Regions from separate parts of the Homo sapiens genome. Here all the other regions are linked to region 3. Evidence: promoter capture Hi-C in 16 types of primary human blood cells and fetal thymus (Javierre and others, 2016). All regions are on one chromosome and are shown on one strand. Each heading gives the region's core, a stretch centred on a gene start or on the middle of the fragment in contact. The rest is flanking DNA. Distances are from core to core; before and after follow the strand shown. Region 1 holds the start of AVEN (apoptosis and caspase activation inhibitor). Region 2 overlaps KATNBL1 (katanin regulatory subunit B1 like 1). Region 3 holds the start of AQR (aquarius intron-binding spliceosomal factor). Region 4 has its middle 24 kb from the start of PGBD4. Region 5 overlaps AVEN (apoptosis and caspase activation inhibitor). Region 6 overlaps CHRM5 (cholinergic receptor muscarinic 5). Region 7 overlaps KATNBL1 (katanin regulatory subunit B1 like 1).

Region 1 (3,686 bases), core at 74-2,573, 930 kb after region 3:
AGTATGTAGAATAGTGTTTGGTGCATATAAGTGCTCTACAAGTGTTACTATTTTTAAGACTGTTTCTCTGGAGTTGACAATCCTTCAATAGTTCCCCCTGTCTGGAAGGCGCCCCTACTCCCATTTACCAACCAGGCAAACTCCTACTCAACCATTAGGCTTTAGCTCAGGGGTCTATTTCTCATGAAGCCTTGGGTAACCCGTTTAAATATAATTTAACTTTTCTTCTTTGGACCTTGATCTTGAATCTCTCACTGCACTCAGCAACACGGTACTGTAATCATCTATTCACACGACTAGATTATCTTCCTTGTGGGCAGTGAGCTACTTGAGGGCAGGGGCAAGGTTTTTTTTTTGTTTTTGTTTTTAATTTCAGGACATAGCACTGTGCCTGATGCAGAGTAGGCAATTAGAAGCAATGAAAAGTATTAACTATGTATGGATATAGGAAAGAACCAGAAAGTACTGAGGGGGAAGAAAACACTTATTCTGCTAGGCTGACATTTTAGCCCTTGCTTTCATTATTTTCAGGTGGTTTCAGTCCCAAGTTAAAAACTGCTTTCATGCATCTGTGTAACCAACTGTTCCCCTTCCTGTTTTCTCCTTGGTTGAAAGAAGGGACTGGAGTGAGACCGCCTTAGAATGCCAGTTCCACCACTACCTAGTTATTCACTTTAGTCAAGTTTTTTTTAACCTTTCCAAGGCTGTTACCTCACTGCAGAATAAGGATGACAGTCATCCCTACCTCATAGAGCTGTTATGAGAATGAAATACTCATGTGCTCAATAAATGTCAGCTGTAGTAGTCATTTCTACAGAAATTCTGCTGAGGACTTTGACGCCCTTTCTAGCCATCTCCCAGTTTCGCACTGTTCTCTCTCCCACGTGCTGCAGTCCACCTCTCACCAGACACAAACTCTTGTCTTTACATCCACACCTCCTGAACCCTGACTTCGGTATAGTTTTAAAATGATACACATTCGTTGCTGAAAATTAGATTAAACGGAGGAAAAAAAATTAACTCACTTCAAATCTCAGCAGTTAACCACTAACATTTTAGTATGTATTTGTTTAGACCTTTTCTTATGCAAATACATACGTTTAAACTTTTTTTTTCCGAGAGTTCACATCATACAAATTTTATTTTATGACTCGTCCTTGCACTTAGCACGGTCTCTCCCCCAACCTATCTCTGATGCCTTGAGAATCCCCCCGCCCCGCTGCAGACCCCCACCACTTCCAGCTCCCAGCGGTCCGGCCTTCCCGCGGTCCCGGTTCCGGCCCCACCTGCGGGACGCCGGCCGCCCCGCCCCGCCCCGCTCCGCTGCGGCCGGCCTCGATCCCTAGCCCCGCACCCCGCGCCTCGCTGCTACCGGGCGCCTTTCGCTCGCGGCTCCTCCGTGCGGCCCGCTTCCGGTGGGGCCAGGGCGTCTCCGCCGCAGCTCGGCTCCCGCGCGCTCAGCACCGCCAGCGGCGGCCAGATGCAGGCGGAGCGAGGAGCTCGGGGAGGCCGTGGGCGGCGGCCAGGCCGCGGCCGGCCTGGCGGAGATCGCCACAGCGAGCGGCCCGGAGCCGCAGCGGCGGTAGCCAGAGGCGGCGGCGGAGGCGGCGGCGGGGACGGAGGCGGACGCCGGGGCCGTGGCCGTGGCCGGGGCTTCCGCGGCGCTCGCGGAGGCCGAGGAGGAGGAGGCGCCCCGCGAGGCAGCCGCCGGGAGCCGGGAGGCTGGGGCGCAGGGGCCAGCGCGCCGGTAAGAGGCGACGGCTGGTGGGGCTGGGACCGCGTGTAACTGGGGCAAGTGGGGCCGAGGCCGCCAGTCAAGAGCCGCAAGAGAGCGTGCCAGGCGCGCGCCAGACGGGCGGCGGCGCCGGCGCCTGCGCGGGACGGGCGGATGGTGGCGCGGGGGCGCGCCTGGTGGCGGGGGCGCGCCTGGGTATGCGCTTGGCCCTCGTGGCCTCCTGGCCGGGCTGGCGCGAGACAGTGGGGGTAGGAGGGCTTCCCAGCCTGCCCCAGGGTCCGGGTTAGGAACCCAGAGGCCAAGGCCGTGTGTCAGGGCTGCAAGTCTCGGCGGCCCGTGGGCCGGCTGGGCTGTCTGTACGAGTACCACTATGGGACGGAGGCGCGGCCACGACGTGGTCCCTCGGCAGCCTTTACGGGCACGCTCCTGTTATTAGGAGGGAAAGGATTTTTTGGTCTGTTTTGTTAACTGTCTGTGCAATGCCTAGTACACAGTAGGCGCATAATAAAAAGTTTGTTGAGTGAAAGAATGACCCCTACGACTGGACTCTAGTATTTGGGGGCGGGACCAGATGCATAGTTCTTTGTAATAGCGTAGTTCTCTTTTATTATGCCTGTATGTGTAGAAATCAGCGAGCACTGGGCTTTGTCGTTTTGAATTTTCAATTTATAAATGAGCAGTCAAGTTCTGAGTTTTAATAGCAATATCATCAGTCTTATTGACACATTCATAGAAGGAAGTTTTTGGAGATTGGAGCAGGGGATGATATATATGGGGGCAAAGCTAACCATATCTCAGCTAAAGGAGTTAGAGGACTGTCTTTTTATGAGTTGTTCTGTTACCTTAACATCTGTAGGACAAGACCATCTTTATATTCTGCATTCTTATGCACACTGATTTAAAAAATTCTTTTTTGCATGAGGCAAAATTTGCTCTTACTGAAGTATTTACAATATCTTGAGGGCATAGCAGATAAGATATCCCTAAAGAGAGTAGTTGTATACAGCAATACAGAGCTGGAAAAAAAAGTATAAAACTTAAATTTAAATGTAACAAACTTAAATCTTGTTAGGATTAAGATAGGTAATAGGCAAAACTTGAATGAGATATAAAAACATTTTTAGGGTCAGTTTACCTCGTGTAAACTGACAGAAACTAAGGTAAATGACAGAAACTAAGACCAACCTAGTGCCCACTATATATCACATTTTGTTCTTATAACTCTATTATATATATATAATATATATGTAATGTAGAATTATGTAATATAATAGTATGTAATTATATATTAACTACAATGTTATATATTATTTATATATCCATATATAGAGAGTAATCTTTATTTTTACAGGTTAACTGACTTGCCTAAGCTTTCACAGCTAGTGGCAGAGCTGGGATTTATATCAAGCTGCCCTTGAGTCAACAGTATTTTATCTCTTACTTTTTCGTGAACCAGTTACCACTTTATTGAGAACAAAGTAGATATTCCTTAGCTGCAGGGATCGTGCTTTAAGAGTAATTGTAGTAATGGTACATTTGGTGTTAACTATGGTGTCTGGCGCACAGGACTTTACTAATAAGTGTCTTTAAGTTGAATTGAGTGAGTGAAGGTGCTTCTGTTTTGTTAATCTCTGTTGAATTAAATTGGGTGAAATGATGGTATATATTTTTTTTTTTTTTTTGAGACGGAGTTTTACTCTTGTTGCCCAGGCTGGAGTGCAATGGCATGATCTTGGCTTGCTGCAACCTCCGCCTCCCGGGTTCAAGTGATTCTCCTGCCTCAGCCTCCCAAGTAGCTGGGATTACAGGCATGAGCCACCTTGCCCGGCTAATTTTGTATTTTTAATAGAGATGGGGTTTCACCATGTTGGTCAGGCTGGTCTCGAACTCCTGACCTCAGGTGATCCACCCGCCTCGGCCTCCCAAGGTGCTGGGATATGGATTACAGGTG
Region 2 (3,832 bases), core at 22-2,521, 780 kb after region 3:
CACGCCCAGCTAATTTTTTGTGTTTTTAATAGAAACGGGGTTTCACCGTGTTAGCCAGGATGGTCTTGATCTCCTGACCTCGTGATCCGCCCACCTCGGCCTCCCAAAGTGTTAGGATTACAGGTGTGAGCCACTGCGCCCAGCCAGGATGGATTTCTAAAAGACTCTCAACAACAACAATAAAAAAACACATAACCACACTACCATTCAACTAAAAATAATTAACAATGATTAATAATAATTCTTCTATCTCATACACGGCTGATCAGAATGTAAAATTGTATAATCACTGTAAAAACAGTTGGGCAATTTTCTTTAAAAGTTTAACATACACCTACCATAAAACCCAGCCATTTCACTTCTGGGTATTTACCCATGAGAAATGAAAGCATATGTTCATACAAGTTTACATGACTTACAGTAATTTTACTAATAATAGTGAAAAATGGAAACAACCCAAATGTCCATCAGTAGGTGAATAAACAAATTGTGGTATAGCCACCTAATAGACTGTTATGTTAACAGTCTGTTAACAATAAAAAGGAATAGACCATTGATACATGCATGCAACAGCATGGATGATTCTCAAACTAGTTATGCTAAGTGAAAGAAGCCCTACCAAATATATATATATATATATATATATATATATATATGGTCTATGATTTATATGAAATTTTTGAAAAGGCAAACTATAGTGACAGAAATACATTCAAGTGGTTGGGGAGGATATACATTTTAAGTTTTGTTTTTTTTAAACTAGGATCTAAGCAACATCCAAACATTGCATTTAGTTGATATAGTCCTGAAGTGTCTTTTAATATGTAGCCTCATCCTCTTATTTTATTTTCTTGCAAAGCGTTTGTTGAGAACACTGAGTCATCTATCCCAAAGAAAGTTTTCTGGATTTTTCTAATTGCATCCTCATGGTCGCATTAACAGGTTCCTGTGTCTTCTGTATTTCCATTAAACTGGTAGTTGGTAACAGGCAGTTGAAGCTTGATTATGTTCAGGTTTGATTTTTTTTGGCAAGAATATTTATTAGTAGTGTTGTTAATATTTCCTGTTGTATCATATCAGGATTCATATAATGTCTGGTTGTCTCTTTTTTTGATGCTAAAATTGATTAGTGTCTTAGATGTTGTCAACCTGATTTATCCATTGTAAAGTTTCCCATTACCTTCTTTAACTGTTTTTGCTTTCTATTGATGCTCAAATTGAGGAACCATATCTGGAGAAGAACTGGAAATTCGGAAATGTGGAAAGCTCTGGATTCTGAATTTTGAGTATACAAGAGTTTTACTGTGGTTGCTTAACTAGACAGCTTTCCTTTATTTCATGTTTACAATTTCCTGTTTGTCTTCGGGACCAGTGTGTCTACTGTGACCCAAGGTGTATTCTGGGATGCTTCATTGCCTCTTAAATTAGATGAACTGCTTCTGCGTTTTTAGTAACCTGTTTAGTAATCTGTTCCTCTTTTATAGCACTCATTATTCATATTCATTGGCTTCCTTGTTATTCGTCCCCACTAGATTGTAAGCTTCTTAGAAATAAGAATGTACTTCCAGGCCGGGCGCGGTGGCTCACGCCTGTAATCCCAGCACTTTGGGAGGCCGAGGCTGGGGGATCACGAGGTCAGGAGATCGAGACCATCCTGGCTAACATGGTGAAACCCTGTCTCTACTAAAAATACAAAAAATTAGCCAGGTGTGGTGGCGGGCGCCTGTAGTCCCAGCTACTCAGGAGGCTGAGGCAGAAGAATGGCATGAACCCGGGAGGCGGAGCTTGCAGTGAGCCGAGATCGTGCCACTGCACTCCAGCCTGGGAGACAGAGCAAGATTCTGTCTCAAAAAAAAAAAAAAAGAATGTACTTCTTATTCATCTCTTGACACATAGTAGTGCTGAATCAGTACATGCTGGATTGAATACATACACTTCCTTTTAATTGTTTAAGAAATGAACCCTAAAATAGCAGTACTGAAACATACAAAGGTAACATTTGATTTTCTCTTTTGAACAGAATTTGTGTGTAATATTAATAAGAGATAATAAAATATTTTTGTTTACTTTTTGAGTAAACTGCAGGGAACAAAGGAGAGGGAAGAGACAGATTTAGTTAGCTTTGTGCCGTCTTTATAGTCTTTTTGTTTAGGAAACTGTCTCCTCTCTATCAAAGAGTAAACATTTTTGTTTTTTCATTTTGGTTAAATGAATGACTATTTTATAGTGACCTATGATCATATTTTGTGATATCAAGTTTTTTAAACCTTTGATATTTGACAAACTTTCCGAAAGCAAAATTGCAAGTTCTAAGTTCAGTCTTTTTGCCTCAAACTTTTTTGGATATTGGGTTCCCTGAAGTCCAAGAGAGACTTATTAGACTTATTTGATGTTAGATTTATACAAGGAGGCATTATCAAATGCGAGGTGGTGTTTAACTTTCTTTGGATTATACTTACATAGATGTGGTATTAATATGTGTTCCAGGGCCAGGTGCAGTGGCTCACGCCTGTAATCCCAGCACTTTGGGAGGCTGAGGCGGGCGGATAACCTGAGGTTGGGACTTCGAGACCAGCCTGGCCAGCATGGCAAAACCCCATCTCTACTAAAAATACAAAATTAGCTGGGCGTGGTGGCGCATGCCTGTAATCCCACCGGAGGCAGAGGCAGGAAAATCACTTGAACCCGGGAGGCAGAGGTTGTGGTGAGCCGAGATCACACCACTGCACTCCAGCCTGGCGACAGAGCGAGACTCTGTCTCAAAAAAAAATGTGTTCCAGGTTGTATGAAATTCCTAAAATTCTGATGTCTTGATTATTATTAATATGTCAGTAATGACGTCTTTGTTACATTTTTGTATGCCACAAAAGTAACCAAATGTCCTTGTCAATTGTGTCTGTCCTGAGATTTTTGTCATTAATTGTTTTGCTTTGATTCTTTCCAAAAAGCAGCTGACAGTCAGTTATAATGCTGGGCTTACTTCTTTGGGGAGTTCATGAAAAGGACTCTTGAATGCAGGCCTCTGATAACTTTGGAAATTGTGCCATGAGACTAGAGAGAAAACTTCCAGGACTAACCAAAAGGCTGATGCGTTCATAAGAATTACTAACCCAATATGAAGCAGAGCAGGAGCTGATTGCATGGACAGAACTAATGGAGAACTGAAATAATTTTGTACGGCTTTTTGTTTGAAACACTGCTACTTTTTTGTTTTGTTTTTCAGAGTCTGGAAAACTTTTTTTCTTCCCCCTTTTTGAGACAGAATCTTGCTCTGTTGCCCAACCTGGAGTACAGTGGCACAATCTTGACTCACTGCAACCTCCACCTCCCAGGTTCAAGCAATTCTCATGCCTCAGCCTCCCAAGTAGCTGGGATTACAGGCATGTGCCATTATGCCTGGCTAATTTTTGTATTTTTAGTACAGACGGGTTTTCATCATGTTGGCCAGGCTGATCTCGAACTCCTGGCCTCAACTGATCTGTCCGCCTCAACCTCCCAAAGTGCTGGGATTACAGATGTGAGCCACCACACCCAGCTCATTTGCGCTATTTATAGCCTTTAACAGCTGAGTAGAGTGTACAGAATTTGAGGTGTATTTCTCTCTGCCCAGTTTCTTCAGAATTCATAAATTATTTGTGAATTTTCTTTTTTTTTTTTTTTTTTTTTTTTTTTTACATGGCGTCTTCCTCTGTCACCCAGGCTGGAAGGCAGTGGCATGATCTTGGGTCACTGCAACCTCCACTTCCCAGGTTCAAGCGATTCTCTTGCCCCAACCTACCGAGCAGCTGGGATTACAGGCACTTGCTACCACACCTGGCTGATTTTTGTATTT
Region 3 (3,535 bases), core at 826-3,325:
GTATACTGGGCTTAATACCTGAGTGATGAAATAATTTGTACAATGAACCCCTATGACACACCTTTACCTATGTAACAAACCTGCCCATCCTGCACATGTGCCCTTGAACTTAAAAATTTAAAAAAAATTGTCCATATTAAGTGTTGACGAGGTGGAGAACAAACTAGAATTATATGCTCCTGATGTGAATGTAAAATAGTACTACTTTAGAAAGATGGCAGTTTCTAAAAACTTAAACATATACTTGCCGGGTGCAGTGGCTTATGCCTGTAATCCCAGCACTTTGGGAGGTCAAAGTGGGCAGATCACGAGCTTAGGAGTTCAAGACCAGCCTGACCAACATGGTGAAACCCCGTCTCTACTAAAAATACAAAAACTAGTCAGGTGTGATGGCGCGTTGCCTGTAATCCCAGCTACTCAGGAGCCTGAGGCAGGAGAATCTCTTGATCCCAGGAGGCAGAGGTTGCAGTGATCCGAGATCACGCCATTGCACTCCAGCCCGGGCGACAGAGCAAGACTCCATCTCAAACAAACAACAAACAAACAAACACACCTATCGTATAACCCAAATATTTCACTCCTAAGTATTTAAGAGCAAAGGAAGTATATGTCCACATGAAGACTTATACACAAATGCTCATAGTGGCTTTATTTGTAATAACTGAGAACTTGGAACAACTCAAATGTCTATCAGCAGATGAATAGTTTATCAAACTGTGGTATATCAGTAAAATGGAACGAATGTTAAGCAATAAAAAAGGAATGAACTACTGATACATGCAACAACATGAATCCATCTCAAAATCATTTCGTTGAGTGAAAGAAGGCATGCACTGTATTATTTCATTTATATAAAATTCCATGAAAAGCAAACTATAGTGACAGAAAGCAGATCAGTGGTTGCCTGAAAAGTGGGTGGGAACAGTGAAAGGCACAGATAGCAAAAGTTCACGAGGAAACTTTTAGAGGCTTTGATATGCTCATTATGATTTTGGCAATAGTTTCACAAATGTATGTTCATGTCAAAACGCATCAAATTTTACAACCTAAATATGTGTGGGTTATTGTATGTGAATTATTTTTATTATTATTTTATTTTTATTTTTTGAGGCTAGTCTCGCTCTGTCACCAAGCTGGAGTGCAATGGCGCAATCTCGGCTCACTGCAACCTCCGCCTCCCAGCTTCAAGTGATTATTCTCCTGAATCCGAGTAGCTGGAACTACAGGCGCGCGCCACCACGCCCGGCTAAATTTTGTTTTTTAGTAGAGATGGGTTTTCACCATGTTAGCCAGGCTGGTCTCAAACTCCTGACCTCAGGCAATCGGCCAGCTTCAGCCTCCCAAAACGCTGGGATTACAGGCGTGACTACCGCGCCTGGCTGGGTTATTGTATGTCAATTTTTACCTCCATAAAACTGTTAAGGCCTGTAATCCCTGCACTTTGGGACCCTGAGGCAGGCGGATTACCTAAAGTTGGTGAGTTCGAGACCAGCCTGACCAATACGGAGAAACCCTGTGTCTACTAAAAATACAAAAATTAGCTGTGCATGGTGGCGCATGCCTGTAATCCCAACAACACGGGAGGCTGAGGCAGGAGAATCGCTTGAACCCGGGAGGCAGAGGTTGCTGTGAGCCGAGATTGCACCATTGCATTGCAGCCTGGGCAACAAGAGCGAAACTCCGTCTCAAAAAAAACAAAACTAAACTAAAACACTGTTAAGGGCAGTTAAAACCCAGCCCATATTCCCAGGCTGTTTTTTTTGTTTTGTTTTGTTTTTTCTTTAGGGTTGAAAAAAAACTAAATCCCCATTCACCGCACACGGCACTCTTCACTAACCACGAGAAACCCCACCCAACACCATCCACCGGGTCCCTCCCTTGCCCTCCTAATCCCGCCAGCGAGGTGTCTTCTCTCTGCCGCCCGCTAGAGGGCGTGTACAGAGGAGGTCAAAGCTCTTGGCTCGCTAGCTCAGCCCCAACGCCTGCATGAACTTCCGGCTACACGCCATTCCGCTTCCCGAGGAACGCTTGGGCTGTTGTACGGGTTCCCTACGGGACTCTGAAGGCTGAGGATATCCGGCCCGGAGCGTTTGTGCGGCGCGGAGTTAAGCGCCCCGGCAGTAACTTAAGGGAAGTGGACCAGGGTTGCCGCTGCCCAGAGCGGTCCTTTAGTTTCCACTGGAGTGGAGGGAAGAGTGCTGCCATGGCAGCCCCTGCGCAGCCCAAGAAGATCGTGGCCCCTACGGTGTCCCAAATCAATGCGGAGTTCGTGACCCAGGTGAGCTCGGGCGAGTCTGGTGTGTGTGAGTGGGTATGGACGTCGTGGCCCCGAGGCCTGGTGGTGGGGTTTTTTTTCAGGATTTAGGAGTCCGGAGGAGGCATTCGTTTGTTAATTGATTCACACACGTCTTTTTACTGAGTATCAGCTCCGTGCCGGCCACTATGCTAGGTGCTGGGCATACCGTGGTGAAAGAAGCTGCCCTGCCCTGGGGAGTTCATGGCCCAAGGAAGACAGACGCATGAAAATAAAACTACTGTATGAGTTTTGCTGTGTTGGAGTTTGTCTCAGGAGCAATGGATTCAGAGAGGAGGGAACACCCCAGTCTATCTGAGACTGGCAAGTAGGCTTCGCAGCAGAGTGATGCTGGACTGCCTCTTCAAGTAGGAGTAGGCTTTTTCCTGGTCCTTAGAGTGTCCTGAGTTTTTGAGCAGCGATGAGAAACTGACAAGACACCTCCAAATAGACCTATCTAAAAACAGAGTAATTCTGTAGTTTGAGAGCGTTCATTTAGAATCTGTTTACTATCTTGCATTGTGAGCCACAGTTGGCTTTGGATAGGGAACCACAGTCCTGTGGTTGTCAGCATCATTCCTCATTCTTATTATTTATTTGTGAATTGCATAAGAGTGTAAGTAGTTCAATGTAGAAGTTATCATGCCCACCTGCTTCTTTATTCTTTATTCCTTGTCTCAACAGATTTGCCAGGGCAGAAGCCTAGGGAGTGATTTTGAATCCTCCCTTTCCCTTAGTCCCTACATTTCTACATTCTAAATATCTTTTGAATCTATCTGGTGTTCTACATCTCTGTCACCCTAAGCTTGGTTGCCATTGTTTTCTGCCTGGACCAAGGTATCGTAATCTGTTATATTGTCCTTCCTCTTGCTCTGCTCTAGCCCATTCTTCATGTTGCTTTCCGAGTGATTTCATACAAGTGCAAATCTCATCATATCACTTGCCTTCTTAAAATTTCTGCCTTCCGGCCGGGCGCAGGGGCTCACGCCTGTAATCCCAGCACTTTGGGAGGCCGAGGCGGGCGGATCACGAGGTCAGGAGATCGAGACCATCCTGGCTAACACGGTGAAACCCCGTCTCTACTAAAAATAAAAAGAAAAAAAATTAGCCGGGCATGGTGGCAGGTGCCTTTGGTCCCAGCTACTCGGGAGGCTGAGGCAGGAGAATGGCGTGAACCCGGGAGGCGGAGCTTGCAGTGAGCCGAGATCGCGCCACTGCACTCCAGCCTGGGCAACAGTGCGA
Region 4 (3,925 bases), core at 690-3,189, 840 kb after region 3:
AAAGGTGAAAAACACCCAAATGCCCATAAGTGATTAATGGAAAGATAAAATGTGTATTCATTCAATGGAATATTATTTGTCGATGAAAAGAATGAAATACTATACATGCTACAACATGGTGAACCTTTAAAACACTATACTAAGTGAAAGAAGCCAGTCACAAGGGACCACATTGTATGATTCCATTTATATGAAATGTCCAAAATAGGCAAACATGTACAGACAAAAACAGCAGATTAGTGGTTGCCTAAGGATATACGGATGGGAAAATTGGGGAGTGACAGCTAAGGGGGGATAGAATTGGGGGTAATGAACGTGTTCTAAAATTGTGATGGATACACAACTGAATATATTAAAAGCCAGTGAATTGTATACTTAAGTGAATTTTATGGTATGTGAATTATATCTCAGTAAAGCTATTTGAAAGAAAAACTTAATGGCAGACTGGCATGGTGATTCATGCCTGTAATCCCAACACTTTGGGATAACTTGAGCCTAGGAGTTCAAGGCCAGCCTGGGCAGCATAGCAAGACCCTGTCTCTTCAAAAAAAAATTAAAATTAGCTGGGCCTGGTGGTGAGCACCTGTACCCCTAGCTACTTGGGAGGCTGAGGTGAATGATCGCTTGAGCCCAGGAGTTTGAGCCTGCAGTTTGAGTTATAATTGGTTTTGGTGGGTGTATGTGCACCACTGAGACAGAAAAGTGCTACAAATTAGTGTTTCCTGGTTTGAGTATTAGAGCAAGGAACAAAGAAAAAAAATAGAATGGCATCAGAATTCTCTCTAAAGAAGGGGCTGCAGTCTTTTTGTGCTTAGTTTTGTTTTTTTGTTTTGCTGAGGTTTTAACATAAGGATTAAGCTGTTAGGGTGCTTCTCTCCCTGAGATGGCAGAATGAAAATTGAGACAAGAACATTCTCCTGCTGCAGTCAGGCAGCCCTCTCCCAGCCTGTTTCCTGAGGATTCCCAGGTTCCCATCACCATGTGACCTACTCCAGCAGAGGAGTGAAGGATGGTAGTCTAGGTCAGGAGGGTCACAGCACCATGAAAAGCCCAGGGATCTGTCATTTACTCTTCAAGAAGAGTAATTATAATTTGAAATACTTTAAATGACATGTTTTTGGAAGGGGAGAGGCACCTGAAATAAGCATAATTAGGGGCCCTCTGGCAACTCTCTTTTGTTCATATTGAGGATGAAATTCTTTGGGTTGAGCTGTTTAGAATCTCCTACTACTTCACTTTTTCTGTCTGTATCAACACAAAAGTTTGGGAAACTACAAACTCCAAATCAAATTTTCAGGTGTATTGTTGCCGACAGATTGTTATGCACATAAATGCTGATATGTAAAATCATGCCTTCATAGAAAACAGACAAAACAGACCCCATTACATGTTCCTGCTGCTTGAGGCTTTGTGGACTCTATTGGAAGATACACTTTTTTTTTTTAAGTAAAAAGTAGTATAAAGCATGTGAGTGGAAGGAGTATGCTTGTGTTTGTTGTTTTTGTTTATGTTATTTTTGCTGGCTGCAGCTGGTTAAGGGTTGATTACTTCAGTCTGGAGGAATCTGGGAAAACATGATCTTTGCACTTAGGCTAGTAGTTCAGGCAATATATATCAAATACCAAATTTGTTCAAATACTTTATAGGCTTTCTGTGGACAGAATTCCTTTATTGTTGTCTACTAATTGAATAGTTTTCTTACTCACATTGACGAAACTGCTGTGTTCCTTATATTTTACAGTTAGTTGGGAATAGATAGGCTTTAACAGGATACAGGGAGGAAGCATCAATAGCTAGCATAGAAACCGAAGAGCCCATCACTCTTCAACTTTACACAGAATCTGCTCAGATTTAATGACATCAACTTACTGCTGCTAGTGACCTAACTGGAACTTCCTGGCACCTTGTATAGTTTTAGTAATTTCAGAAATTACTGTATGTTACTTTTTTTTTTTTTAAGAGGCAGGGTCTCTCTGTCACCCAGGCTGGAGTGCCCTGATGTAATCATAGCTCATAGCTCACTGCAGCTCGAACTCCTGGGCTCACGGGATCCTTCAGCCTCAGCCTCCTGAGTAGCAGGGACTGCCCAGCTAATATTTCTTTTGTTTTGTAGAGACAGGGTCTCGTTATGTTGCCCAGGCTGGTCTCGAGCTCCTGGACTCAAGCAATCTTCCTGCCTTGGCCTCCCAAAGTGCTGAGATTACCATTGTGAGCCACTGTGCCTGGCCACTAGCTTCTTCTTGTTCCTGGCTTTGCTTTCTACCCTCATCTCATCTCAACATCACACACATACATACTCCACCGTATGCCAGGGTACTCTTGGGCCATTTGGTTGGACATACCCTGCAATTTCAGTCCAGGCCTTCAAACTTACTGTTTTTCTCTGCGGAGAACACTCACTCCTGTCTCTGCCTTTTTCCCTTCATCCATCCTCCCACCTTCTCTGAAAATAACTCTTTCTTGAATCTTCAAGTCTTAGCTTGTTCTTCTCTTCAAATTTTTGTGTTGGGTGCCCCTTCTTTGTGCTCTGAGTGTATCCTGTTCTTCCCCCATCATGGTACATAAGTATAATTGGCTATACTAAATTTTACTTATTTACCTGTCAGTAGCCTCTTAGGTAGGATCAATGTTTGTCTAACTCACCATTGTAACTCCAGCTCCCTGCTCTGTGCAACCTAAATATAATAAGAAATGTTCAATAAAAATTTGTTGAATAAATGAATAAAGGAACAAAGAGCTACTGGGTGTTTAAAATAAACTAGAATATTCAGACGAGACCCAGGTGCCTGTTCCTATCAGTCATTCATCCTTCTTGGCTGTAGCCACCAACCAGCACCTGTTTTTCTATCAAGAGAAGATTCATTCCGTAATAGAACTCCTGTAACAGGACCCTGCCATGCTGTCAATGAGCATATCTGCAAACCCTCTGTTACTGCCATTAGGATTCACTCCCTCACACATGGATCATTAATTGTAAGACTGCATATTTTGTCGCAGAATTAATGTAAGGTACTTATTCTGTATGGGTACCTAGCACAGTACGCTTTACAGTTGCATTGTTCCATAGATGTGTGCTGATAATTATAAACCCAGGGGACCTCCAGCAGCCCATCAGGATCTCTGCCAGTAGATCTTGCATGAAAGCCATTTTTCTCACCATATTGGTTATGCCTCTGACCAGCTCCAAGAGAAGGGCAAAAGTAGGGAGCTGACCGACTCTATCATCAGCACTGTCCATCTCTGTTCAGGGACTTCACTGCTGACTTCTGGGACAGTTTCTGCCCTCGCCTCACCCCTACCCCTACCCATTTGGAATCATAAAGTATCTAGGAAATAAAAAGTTGTTCTTACAGATAAAAATTAGGGACCTTTGAGAACCAGAGTTGCATAAGTCTAGGATAGGGCAATTGAATTTCTCCACTGGAAATGTAGTTGAAGATTCTTTATCTGAAAAATTGTTCATTTTAATGTAATAGGCCAGAGCACTATAACTAAAAAAACTGTGGTTAATTCTGCTTGCTGATTACTATTATCACTTTTCGGTCTGGTATTATAGACATATGCCTTCATCACCATAAGACTATTTTTATTTTTAAAAAGCATTCTGGTTTTGAGGGATAACTTTGGCTTAGGATATAAAACCAGTCTCCTAAATCTTGGATTTCCATAGCTTGTGACTGCTGTGTTGCCTAGAATATGAAACAGGTGGCCATCTCATGCCATTCATTTTCTTCTGTAAAATGATCTCCCTATGTGATATGGAAGTATTTTTGTAAGTGATATAAACACATTAAGAATGGAAGAGACTAAATATAATTACTTACTTTAAAATAGATAAAACATTTGTTTGTAGTGTGTATAATATACACACTTGTATGTTTCACCCTTTCCAGAACAAATATATGGTCACAGAAAGCTTAATATG
Region 5 (3,885 bases), core at 77-2,576, 950 kb after region 3:
GGGCCATGATGCCATTCATTTGATGTCTGAGGAGCAATAGAAAGCAGTTCAGCTAGAAAAGAAGGGCATGCCAGCCAAACAGCTTTCAAATGTCATGCATTGTGTGGCAGGAGTAGGTTTTAAATATAATGCATGTACTTGTCCTTATTGCAAACAATGCCGTCTTATTCCATCTACAAAATATTTGCACTTGAATTCTCTAAGTACAAATTTTGCAGTAGTTGTCATTTGCTTTCTATGGACTTTAAGAATGCTGCTTGCACAAGTGCTGTGGGTGCTCACTTCTTTTTCATGTTAATGTTGCCATGTGGAAGTGCTCTTATTTTATTTTATTTTATTTTTATTTTTGAGATGGAGTCTTGCGCTGTCCACCCAGGCTGGAGTGCAGTGGCGCAACCTCGGCTCACTGCAACCTCCACCTCCTGGGTTCAAGTGATTCTCCTGCCTCAGCCTCCCCAGTAGCTGGGATTACAGGCACCTGCCACCATGTCCAGTTAATTTTTGTATTTTTAGTAGAGACGGGGTTTCACCATTTTAGCCAGGCTGGTCTCAAACTCCTGACCTCAAATGATCTGCCCACCTTGGCCTCCCAAAGTGCTGGGATTACAGGCATGAGCCACCTTACACGGCCATGTGTAAGTGCTCTTAAAGATACAGAAAATAAGCCAGGCGCGGTGGCTCACCTGAGGTCAGGAGTTCCAGACCAGCCTGACCAACACGGAGAAACCCCGTATATACTAAAAATACAAACTTAGCTGGGCATGGTGGTGTGTGCCTGAAATCCCAGCTACTCAGGAGGCTGAGGCAGGAGAATCACTTGAACCCGGGAGGCAGAGGTTGTGGTGAGCCAAGATGGCGCCATTGTACTCCAGTCTGGGCAACAAGAGTGAAACTCCGTCTCAAAAAAAAAAAAGATACAGAAAATATTTTTTAGCTGAGTGGGGTGGTGTGTGCCTGTAGCCTAAGCTACTTGGGAGGCGACAGAGCAAAACTCCATCTCCAAAAAAAGAAAAAGAAAAAGATGCAATTTTTTCATAGAAAAATTCACCCAGGCCACAAATGAGAAAAGATAGGCATTTTATAGACTCTTCATCGGGGAAGAACTGAAAAGGAGAATAAATTCAAAAGAGGAGCTTCAGATGCTGGAAAGCTAGAGAAGCATACATGAAATCATTTTCTGTCAGGTAAAGTGTATATGCAGAAAAAGACTTTTCAGATGCATGGCCCAGTGATTCATTCCTCACCATTTGGTCAGTGTGTGCATATAGACTGTCTCCATATAAGGTAGGTGCTTAAAAGGAAGAGAATTTTGGTAGGTCCATTTGTTTTTTAATACAAAATGGCAAATCAAACAGCTTTTACTGGTTAGGGCTGGAGTTTGGCCCTTTTCTTATAAAAACAAGTAAAAAGTTATGTGGAGATTATATCTTGTGTCTTACGAAATTTGGCCTAATTTCATTTACAGCTTTTCATGACAAGGAGAGTAAGGTCGTAATTCAGTCAAGGGGCTTGAATGATGTGATATGAGGAGCTTTTATGAAGGCATACATAGCTTTATGAAGTTACAGCTGCCCATCTGTAAGTCAGAGCAAGTACTAATGAAAGTGCAGTGAGAATTGAAATCCATTTCAGAATTGTGAGGTGGTGTGAGAAGAGGGGATGTTCTGCCAGATGATGGCATTAACCCTTTAGTTAACAAGGATAGGTGCTTAGAGGCTTAAACCAGATGATCTACATGCTTTAAGAGAAATAGTATTGTTTCAACCAAATTTCTAATTTGCCTCCTTGGATTTATATTGTGCAACCAACTTGTAAAGGCATCAGTAAGAAAGTTCTAAAAGCAGAAAAGAACACTATCCTTTTAAAACCTCTATTTTTTTTTCTTTTTTTTTTGAGATGGAGTCTCGCTCGGTCACCCAGGCTAGAGTGCAGTGGTGTGATCTCAGCTAACTGCAAGCTCCGCCTCCCTGGTTCACGCCATTCTCCTGCCTCAGCCTCCCGAGTAGCTGGGACTACAGGCACCCACCACCACGCCTGGCTAATTTTTTGTATTTTTAGTAGAGACGGGGTTTCACCATGTTAGCCAAGATGGTCTCGATCTCCTGACCTTGTGATCCACCCACCTTGGCCTCCCAAAGTGCTGGGATTACAGGTGTGAACCACTGCGCCCAGCCTAAAACCTCTATTTTGAGGCATGGAAAAGGTGTTTAAAAAATCAAGACTCTTTTGAACTTGTTGTATGCATTAAAATGTAATTGCATACAAAAGAACTGCTTAAGACTTTGCAATTCTATTTTTCTAAGTTTTGCTACAATAAATAGTCATGTATTGCTTAATGGGGATATAGTCTGAGAAACATGTCGTTAGGTGACTTGTCATTGTGCAATACCATAGAGGGTACTTACATAAACCTAGATGGTGTAGCCTACTGTACACCCAGGCGGTATGGTATAACATATTGCTCCTGGGCTACAAACCTGTACAGCATGTTACGGTACTGGATACTGTAGACAGTTATATCACAATGGTAAGTATTTGTGTGTCTAAACATAAAAAAGGTACAGTAAAATTACTGTGTATAGGATGAGAAATGGTAAACCTGTATGGGGTGCTTTCCATGAATGGAGCTTGCAGGACTGAAAGTTGCTCTGAGTGAGTCAGTGAGTGAGTGGTGAGTGAATAGGAAGGCCTAGGACATTACTGTACACTACTATAGACTTTATAAACACTGTACACTTAGGCTACACTAAACTTATGCTTTTTTTAAATAATTAGCCCTAGTTTACTGTAATTTTCTTACTTTATAAACTTTTAAATATTTTTACCTTTTTGACTCTTGTAATAACACTTAGCTTAAAACAAACACATTGTACAGCTGTACCAAAATATATCTTTATAAGCTTTTGTTTTCTATTTTAAAAATACTTTTCTACTTTTAAAAGATTTTTCTTAAAAATGAAGACACAAACAATTACATCCATTAGCCTAGGCCTACACAGGGTCAGGATCATCAATAGTAAGCGGTGAAGCCAGCTGGACTTACTGGGTTGAGTGGGGACTTGGAGAACTTTTCTGTCTAGCTAGAGGATTGTAAATGCACCAATCAGCACTCTGTGTCTAGCTAAAGGATTGAAAATGCACCAATCAGCACTCTGTAAAAAAAACGCACCAATCAGCGCTCTGTGTCTAGTTAGATTGTAGATGCACCAATGAGCACTCTGTAAAAACACACCAATCAGCACTCTGTGTCTAGCTGAAGGATTGTAAAAAACACCAATCAGCACTCTGTAAAAATGCACCAATCAGCACTCTGTGTTTAGCTAAAGGATTATAAATGCACTGATCAGCACTCTGTAAAAATGCACCAATCAGTGGTCTGTGTCTAGCTAAATGATTGTAAATGCACCAATCAGCACTCTGTAAATGGACCAATTAGCACTCTGTAAAATGGACCAATCAGTAGGACGTGGGCAGGGCCAAATAAGGGAATAAAAGCTGGTCACCCCAGCCAGCAGCAGCAACCCACTGGAGTCCCTTTCCATTCTGTGGAAGCTTTGTTCTTTCACTCTTCACAATAAGTCTTGCTGCTGCACACTCTTTGGGTCTGCACTACCTTTATGAGCTGTAACACTCACCACGAGGGTCTGCGGCTTCATTCCTGAAGTCAGCGAGACCACGAACCCACCGGGAGAAACAAACAACTCTGGACGCACTACCTTTAAAAACTGTAACACTCACTGCGAAGGTATGTGGCTTCACTTCTGAAGTCAGGGAGACCACGAACCCACCGGAAGGAAGAAACTCGACACATCTGAACATCTGAAGGAACAAACTCTGGACACACCATCTTTAAGAACTGTAACACACCGCGACGGTCTGCGGCTT
Region 6 (3,757 bases), core at 1,250-3,749, 910 kb after region 3:
TAAGACGCATGAAGTCTGGTGATTTTTAAGTCCAGCTGCAGATGTAACCAACGAGTTAAATAATGTCTGACAGGAGTGCTTCATCTTTAAAATCCTTGCTGTGTACCACACTACTGCTTCTTTGTGGACTTTTGTCCACAAAGGTCCTTTGATTCCGTTTGTTTATACGCACTTAGAGATTTCAATTAAGTGTGGTTTTTAATAATCCTCATGCTGTCATGCATGTCAACTGTTTTATTTTTATGTATTACTATGACCTACACTTTGTTTTTAAAAATGAAGCTTTCAGATCATTTTCAGCTTCATCGCACCCTCAAGTGTGCTTTTCTGGCCTTCTCATTTGTGACCGAATTTGGAGAGGAATAAAGAAGTCATTTTTAGGCCCTGATTTGAAGGACCTATAAAAAAAGACTTTCTACCCCCACCTCACCCCACAACCCCCTGCTTGGAGGCAGCACAGCTGACCTGCTTGCGTCTTGGTGTGAACTGGGGATCTGAACAAGGGAAATTGGAGGCTGCAAAAGGGCTCTGGAAGAAATTCAAAAGCAAATCTGTTTTCCACATTTTGCTCAGGTTTGCCCTGTGAAGAGATTAGAAAGCAAGATCTCTGAAAACAATATAAGAACCTTAATTCAACAGCCTGGAGAAAATCTTCAGCCAGTGAAGGGCTCTTACACAATTAGTCTTCCTAAGAACAGAGCATAAATAAATGGGTTCAAATGGGCACAAAATAGAATGCACAATATCTGTTTAGATAAAAGAAAAAATTTCCACTGGCAAAAACTAAAATAACTGACTGTGGAGACTTGATCCATCTTTATTAGTAGAAAAGAGGCCCCTTGAAAGGACTGGGTATGACCAGGTTTCAGTCCTTCCAGACTCTGGATTCTGAGAGGAAGGATGGTTCCCTGGAGATCAGCATGGGTTCAGTGAGTACAAGGAATTGACATTGGATATGAAAGGGAAGAGCAAGACCTTCACTCAGATGTGGGGACAGGAAAACAAACCACAGTATAGTATAGACCACATAATAGCTGCATAATAGATAGTGATCAGTTTATGAAGATACATATTCTTAGAAGCCTGTTGAATATCAGTCTCGTTAACAAGTGACACTGTTGTACATTCTCCTGCTGGTTCTCACTGGCACAAGACAGCTTCATAGACACATACATATTGCACAAAATTCTATGACAGGTTTCCACAGGAAAAGGTTTCCACCTGGTCTCTGCTGTTTCCTACAGAAGGGGCATAAGTTCCCTGAGTCACTGTTCATTGTTACCCAGTGTGCTTCCTCTTGTGAAGGGCCATGAGCCTATCCCTTTACTTCATTGGCAAACTCCCCTGGCATCAAATGGCCTTGGTCATAGGCAAGAGTCATTTAATATGTCAGCAATTGCTGCAGCTATGGCCCCTTCCATTTGGCAACCAAACTTGAGCCTTTACAAAAATCTTCAAGGACTCAAAATGAGATGTCTTCTTTTTGAAAATATACAAACCAGAATCAGCTTGCTCATCCTCAGAGGATGTTGACTGTGGTCATTGTTCTTTCGAGAGGAGTTGTTGACTTTTCAGGGTAGCTTGCTGTTCCCCTGCCAGTACAACTTCTCTTCCACTTTTTTCTTTTTCCATCGGCAGAGAAGCAGCATCTTAAAGGTCTTCCTGAAGGTTCTGTTGCAGAGGGCATAGCAGATGGGGTTGACAGTGCTATTGACATAGCACAACCAATAGCCCAAGTGCCACAGGGTGACTGGGACACACTTGTCACAGAAGGTAGAAACCAGGACCATGATGTTATACGGGGTCCATGTGATGATGAAGGCCAGGAGAATGGCACTCAGTGTCTGGGCTGCTTTCCTCTCTTTGACTAGGACCACTCTCTTTCGTTTGGTCATTTGATGGCTGGGGTTGGGATTGAGGCCTTTCGTTGAAGGTTCCTTGGCCACTGGGAAGGGGCAGGGCATGATTTTCACCTTGTGACAGCCATTGTTGGTCTCCTGGTTCCCGTCAGCTTTTACCACCAATCGGAACTTATAGGCCACACATTTCTGACTCTTGGGTCTATGAGCAGCTGCTGGAGACAGAAGGTAGTTTGGGGTGTCATAGTCACTTTTTTCAGTTTCAGCTTTCACAAAAGTTTCCTCAGTCTCTTCAGCACTGAATTCTTCCCCTGGGCTTTCCTTACCCTGACTCTTGTAGACCACTTGGAGGACAGGGTCAGTGGCGGGCTTGTCCTCATCCTCTGAGGAAGGGTAGCTGCTACAGGTGGTGAGCTGCTCAGCTTTGGCCCAATTGGCGCTTGGGCCAGTGGCTTGGGATGGCTTCCCAGTGGTGGAGGTGCTCCTGCGGGAGGATGACCAGGAGGCCTGGTTCCTTTCCCGCTGGGCCAGGGTGGGTCGAGGACAGCGCAAGCAGGATCTGAACAGAGCCCTATGAGCTGGCTTTCTCTTCTCAGCTTTGGTCACAGAGTCAGAACCCTGGAGGTCAGCCAGGTCCTTGGTTCGCTTCTCTGTTTCCCGGTAGATTCGACAGTAGAGGATGGTCATGACAGAAACAGGGATGTAGAAGGCAGCAATGGCAGTGCCAAAAGTGATGGTGGGCTCAGAGAGAAACTGGATCTGGCACTCATCCAGTGGAACTGTCCGCTTCCCAACCAAGTACTGCCAGCAGAGGATTGCTGGGGCCCAGAGGATGAAGGAGATCAGCCAGGCCAAGCCAATCATGATGCCAGCCCTTTTCGGAGTACGCTTGGCCCGATATGTCAAGGGTCTTGTGATGGAAAAGTAACGGTCAAAACTGATCACCAGAAGGTTCATGACAGAAGCGTTGCTGGCCACGTAGTCCAGTGCAAGCCAAAGGTCACAAGCCAGACTCCCGAGAGCCCAGCGTCCCATGAGGATGTAGGTGGTGTAGAGGTTCATGGAGAAGATTCCAATGATGAGATCTGCACAGGCTAAGCTGAGCAGGTAATAGTTGTTAACTGTCTTGAGCTGGCTGTTGACTTTGAAGGAGATCATGACCAAGACATTGCCCACAATGGTGATCAGGCTTACCACAGCAGTCACAGCTGCAATGGTGATGACTTCCCACAACCTGTGGCGTTCCAAAGGCTGGTGATTTACTGGGGTGCCATTGACGGTGGTTGCATTGTGGTAAGAATCCCCTTCCATCCTGGTGCAAAAATTTTACAGTAAATAGTGTTAGGTTCTAGGCTGTTTTCTATTTCAGCTCTTCTTGGCCAGCATCTGGAAGAGAGGGAAACACATTAGCTTCGCACACCAGCATGATTTTCTTGTCCATCCATTGTTTATAGTTTTTTTTTTTTTTTTTTTTGAGACAGAATCTCGCTTTGTCACCCAGGCTGGAGTGCAGTGGTGCGATCTCAGCTCTCTACAAGCTCCGCCTCCCGGGTTCAGGCCATTCTCCTGCCTCAGCCTCCCGAGTAGCTGGGATCACAGGCTCCCACCACCACGCCCAGCTATTTTTTTGTATTTTTAGTAGAGACGGGGTTTCACTGTGTTAGGCGGGATGGTCTCGATCTCCTGACTTCGTGATCCACCCGCCTCGGCCTCCCAAAGTGCTGGGATTACAGGCGTGAGCCACCGCGCCCGGCCCATTGTTTATAGTTTCTAATGGAATATTAAACGTGGCTGCACACATATTCAGAGCAAGATGCTGAAATCTCTAAAGTTTGATCACCTATTTTTAATGGCATCCTTTTGCTTTTTGTTGTTACCTATGGCTGAGTGCCCTTCTT
Region 7 (4,021 bases), core at 588-3,087, 760 kb after region 3:
TACATGTTAAATGTTTTCATCCCTAAAACTTATTGAGTGGTTATTCTGTACTTGAAATGGTTATACTTAAACTAATACCTCCTTGACAAGGAATAAATTTCAAAAGCAAAATCACTTAGTAAGAAATCAGCAGTTTATACTTATCTATAGCAGAGCTTTTAAATGTCATTCATCAGTTACAAAGCTTTCGATTGCCTGTATGCCCAACAGGGTGGTAGACCCAATTGGCTATACAAAAGAAATGTGCCGCAAGAATGACACTATGGACTTTGGGGACTTGGTAGAAAGAGAGTGGGAGGGGGATGAAGGATAGAAGACTACACATTGGATACAGTGTTCACTGCTCAGGTAATGGGTGCACCAGAATCTCGGAAATCACCCCTGAAGAACTGATTCATGTAACCAAACACCACTTGTTCCCCAAAAACCTATTGAAATAAAAAATAATAAAAATAAAATAAAAAATGTGCCAGGACAACCAACCTTAGGGAGATTAATCTAGTTTGGGTTATGAGATTAACAACAAAAAATATATATGACACTCTTCGTTAGTACAGTGGATGAATGCAGAACTGAACTGGGTAAAGCTTCTGCGAAAAACTAACAATTGCAGGATTTATGTAGGGCACTGAACAGAAGGGTGGATGGTGGGGCTAGGCAGGGTTGGTAATCCCAACACTTTGGGAGGCCAAGACAGGAGGATCTCTGGAAGCCAGGAGTTCGAGAGCAGCCTAGGCAACATAGCGAGACCATATCTCTACAAAAAATTTAAAATATTTTGCCAGGCATGGTGGCATGTGTCTGTAGTCCCAGCTACTTGGGAGGCTGGGGTGGGAAGATCGCTTAAGCCCAAGAGGTCAAGGCTACAGTGAGCCGAGATTGTGCCACTGCACTTCAGTGCAGCCACAGAACTGGTGTGGCTCACACCTGTAATCCCAGCACTTTGGGAGGCCAACGGTAGGAGGAAAGCTTGAGCCCAGAAGTTTGAGACCAGCCTGGGCAACATACCAAGACTCCATCTCTACAAAACATTTTAAAATTAGGGCCAGTGGGTCATGCCTGTAATCCTAGCACTTTGGGAGGCTGAGGCAGGTGGATCACAAGGTCAGGAGATCGAGACCATCCTGGCTAACACGATGAAACCCTGTCTCTACTTAAAATACAAAAAATTAGCTGGGCGTGGTGTCACACGCCTGTAGTTCCAGCTACTTGGGAGGCTGAGGCAGGAGAATCGGTTGAACCCAGGAGGCAGAGGTTGCAGTGAGCCGAGATCGCACCACTGCCTTCCAGCCTGGGCGACAGAGTGAGACTCCATCTCAAAAATAAAATAAAATAAAATTAGGCAGGTGTAGTGGCATGCGCCTGTAGTCACAGCTGCTTGGGAGGCTGAGGTGAGAGGATTCCTTGAGTCCAGAAGTTGGAGGCTGCAGTGAGCCATGATCATATCACTGCACTCCAGCCTGGGTGACAAAGCAAGACCCTGTCTCAGGGAAAAAAAAAAAAAAAAGTATTGTCTAGTAACAACAAGATGCATCATAACATTACACTAGTCAGTATTATGTTGATGTTTTATCAATCATTATATTTGTTGATCCATGTTAGTTAATTTGGTGCTTTCTGGAAAATGTATTTAGGAATATAATGTTTTTTAATTAAACACCTTAAACCTAATACAAATGGTACTTTTACTGGGAGCATACACTTTTTAAATTGGAAGGGTGTAATTTGACTTTTCTTTTCTTTTTTTTTTTTTGAGACGGAGTCTTGCTCTTGTCTCCCAGGCTGGAGTACAGTGGCAAGATCTTGACTCACCACAACCTCCACCTCCCGGGTTCAAGCTATTCTCCTGCCTCAGCCTCCTGAGTAGCTGGGATTACAAGCACCCACCACCACGCCCGGGTAATTTTTGTATTTTTAGTTGAGACGGGGTTTCGCCATGTCGGCCAGGCTGGTCTTGAACTCCTGACCCAGGTGATCCGCCCACCTCGGCCTCCCAAAGTGCTGGGATTACAGGCGTGAGCCACCATGCCCGGCGTAATTTGACTTTTCTTTGCCAGGTTCAAATGCTGTGTTTACTATTTCTTGCTCATCTAAGTATTTTTTCACTACCAGCTTAATACCCCTTAACTTTGGAGACTTCTGCGTTATATTTACCATTCTTGTTCTTGGAGCATAATGAGGGTAGAAATGAGAGAAAAGGTATTTTGAAAGGACTCCCTTTTTTGCTTCCTGTAACTACCTCTCTCTCCTTCAGTTTTATATACTGTCTGAAATTCTTTTTGCCTTGAGCAAGTCACCCAGAAACCTACCACCTATGTATGAGTCATGAGATGCTCATTCTAGCATCTCCTCTGCCCACTAGCATACTCTTAAGATGCACAGCTTGGTGTTACAGTGGGAAAGGCACTATTACTGTAAGTCGCAACGCTAAGCCTGTTAGTAACTAAGGGTTTTTGGGCAAGTGATTTAATCTCATCTGAAATTATCTCCAAGGTCGAGAATCTATAAAATAGTTACTTATTGAGGGGTGTTCTTTGGTGAGGAGGGAGACCTGTGGGGAAGAGGCCTCTGGATAGTCTTTTACATCTTAGTGTGATTAATCATAGATTATTTCTCCTAAAGGCATTTTTAAAAGCTACTTATATGATAGGATTGAGGAAGAAATCTTAGGATGGAATTTAAAGGCCAGTAGAATATAAGCTTCAGTACAGCAGGGATTTTTGTTTGGTCCACTGATGTTTCCCTAGTGCGTAGAATAGTAATTAGTCTGTAACATGTACTTAATATTTGTTGAACGAGTGAAGAAATGAAGGAATGGGTTGCTGGGGAAAGATAAAATTTGTTGGAGTACTGCGCAGATGCTCTGAGTATCTTGAAGGAATTCAAAATGCAAACCAACCAGAGTACAACCCATCATTCCTACAATGTAAAAATACCTCCCAGCAGTAGCAAAGTGTCTATTGTTCACTTAATCGCCTTTCAGAACTATTAAGCGATTACTGCCCTGGCTGCCCCTCTTACTCACAGAGTAAGATTTTGACCATCACCACATACTTAAGTGCCAGCTTGACATTTCAGTATGCATTTTACTCTTACTTTCAAAAACCTATGTCCTAGCCATTCCCTGTGCTACACTTAATATAATCAATAACAGGACATTTACTGTTGTAGCAAAAATGAATTATATATATTGATTAAAATTTGGCCTTTCATCCATGGAGGATTCATGGCATAGCATTTAAAAACTGGCACTCTTCAGGCACAGTGGCTCATGCCTGTAATCCCAGCACTTTGGGAGGCCTACGTGGGCGGTTCACAAGGTCGAGAGATCGAGACCATCCTGGTCAACACAGTGAAACCCCGTCTTTACTAAAATACAAAAAATTAGTTGGGTGTGGTGGTGCACACCTGTAGCCCCAGCTACTCAGGAGGCTGAGGCAGGGGAGTCACTTGAACCCGGGAGGCGGAGGTTGCAGTGAGCCGATATTGCACCACTGCACTCCGGCCTGGCAACAGAGCGAGACTCCATCTTAAAGGAAAAAAAAAAAAAAAAAACTGTCCCTCTTTGCCTTCCTGTTCCACAACTGCCATATAAATAATCGTCAAGAATAGTTTTTTCACATATAATTCGTATACAAAGTTTCTCAGTAAGTCTATTTTGTCTACAAGATAAAGTCCAAATTCCTGACCTAGCATTCAGGGACTTCTGCATTTTAGCCAACTACCTTTTTATTCTTTTCCCTTACAGTGGCCTGTACTCAATAATTACTTAATTATTGAATAGTTGGTATAGAAAATAAGGAAACAAAAAGCAGTTATTCTTGCCTACAAAGTATGTTTCCAGTTGAAGAAAGTCTGGCAGATGGTTTTTCAAGAAGCCTGTATGGGTGGCATTCATTGTTTGAGTGAATTATCCATTTAGTGAAAAATAGCATTAGAGACAAGAATTCCTTAAAACTCCATGTAAACAGTTTTTTTGATCCTTGTTGACAGACCTGTTGGAAACTAGGTAATACAGTCT

Evidence for each region. Contacts are between HindIII fragments. The CHiCAGO score rates a contact against its expected background, and 5 or more counts as called.
Region 1: the fragment with the promoter of AVEN here is called in contact with the fragment with the promoter of AQR in region 3 in 9 of 17 cell types (naive CD8 T cells, non-activated CD4 T cells, total CD4 T cells and 6 more); the score reaches 10.0 in naive CD8 T cells.
Region 2: a contact is called between a fragment that was not itself captured here and the fragment with the promoter of AQR in region 3, in 1 of 17 cell types (total CD8 T cells). The highest score is 5.3, in total CD8 T cells.
Region 4: a contact is called between a fragment that was not itself captured here and the fragment with the promoter of AQR in region 3, in 1 of 17 cell types (non-activated CD4 T cells). The highest score is 7.4, in non-activated CD4 T cells.
Region 5: a fragment that was not itself captured here is called in contact with the fragment with the promoter of AQR in region 3 in 2 of 17 cell types (naive CD8 T cells and total CD4 T cells); the score reaches 7.1 in naive CD8 T cells.
Region 6: a fragment that was not itself captured here is called in contact with the fragment with the promoter of AQR in region 3 in 4 of 17 cell types (non-activated CD4 T cells, fetal thymus, naive B cells and 1 more); the score reaches 8.8 in non-activated CD4 T cells.
Region 7: a fragment that was not itself captured here is called in contact with the fragment with the promoter of AQR in region 3 in 7 of 17 cell types (fetal thymus, total CD8 T cells, monocytes and 4 more); the score reaches 12.0 in fetal thymus.

What each region holds. Positions count from the first base shown.
Region 1 is chr15:34,036,841-34,040,526 of GRCh38, reverse strand. AVEN (apoptosis and caspase activation inhibitor) reads left to right here and starts at 1,323. Exons shown (of 6, transcript NM_020371.3): 1 at 1,323-1,747. The coding sequence starts at 1,481. All of the region lies in intron 1 of CHRM5 (cholinergic receptor muscarinic 5), which reads right to left. RefSeq lists silencers at 1,231-1,400, 1,581-1,790, 1,881-1,940, 2,291-2,350. The HindIII fragment of the contact is 8,272 bases long and covers 1-3,107 here.
Region 2 is chr15:34,187,979-34,191,810 of GRCh38, reverse strand. All of the region lies in intron 1 of KATNBL1 (katanin regulatory subunit B1 like 1), which reads left to right. Among named protein-coding and RNA genes, the nearest start is that of KATNBL1, 20 kb to the left of the region's middle. The HindIII fragment of the contact is 542 bases long and covers 1,001-1,542 here.
Region 3 is chr15:34,968,282-34,971,816 of GRCh38, reverse strand. AQR (aquarius intron-binding spliceosomal factor) reads left to right here and starts at 2,075. Exons shown (of 35, transcript NM_014691.3): 1 at 2,075-2,278. The coding sequence starts at 2,204. RefSeq lists enhancers at 1,972-2,081, 2,132-2,281, 3,450-3,535. The HindIII fragment of the contact is 5,969 bases long and covers 1-3,100 here.
Region 4 is chr15:34,123,771-34,127,695 of GRCh38, reverse strand. No RefSeq gene overlaps it. Among named protein-coding and RNA genes, the nearest start is that of PGBD4, 24 kb to the right of the region's middle. The HindIII fragment of the contact is 3,958 bases long and covers 1-3,918 here.
Region 5 is chr15:34,018,319-34,022,203 of GRCh38, reverse strand. All of the region lies in intron 1 of AVEN (apoptosis and caspase activation inhibitor), which reads left to right. All of the region lies in intron 1 of CHRM5 (cholinergic receptor muscarinic 5), which reads right to left. Among named protein-coding and RNA genes, the nearest start is that of AVEN, 19 kb to the left of the region's middle. The HindIII fragment of the contact is 3,153 bases long and covers 1-2,902 here.
Region 6 is chr15:34,062,131-34,065,887 of GRCh38, reverse strand. It overlaps CHRM5 (cholinergic receptor muscarinic 5), which reads right to left. Exons shown (of 3, transcript NM_012125.4): 3 at 1-3,245. The coding sequence starts at 3,170. The coding sequence ends at 1,572. It also overlaps a transcript of AVEN not described here. Among named protein-coding and RNA genes, the nearest start is that of AVEN, 25 kb to the right of the region's middle. The HindIII fragment of the contact is 4,430 bases long and covers 285-3,757 here.
Region 7 is chr15:34,204,524-34,208,544 of GRCh38, reverse strand. The region is part of intron 1 of KATNBL1 (katanin regulatory subunit B1 like 1); the gene reads left to right. Among named protein-coding and RNA genes, the nearest start is that of KATNBL1, 3.6 kb to the left of the region's middle. The HindIII fragment of the contact is 1,731 bases long and covers 972-2,702 here.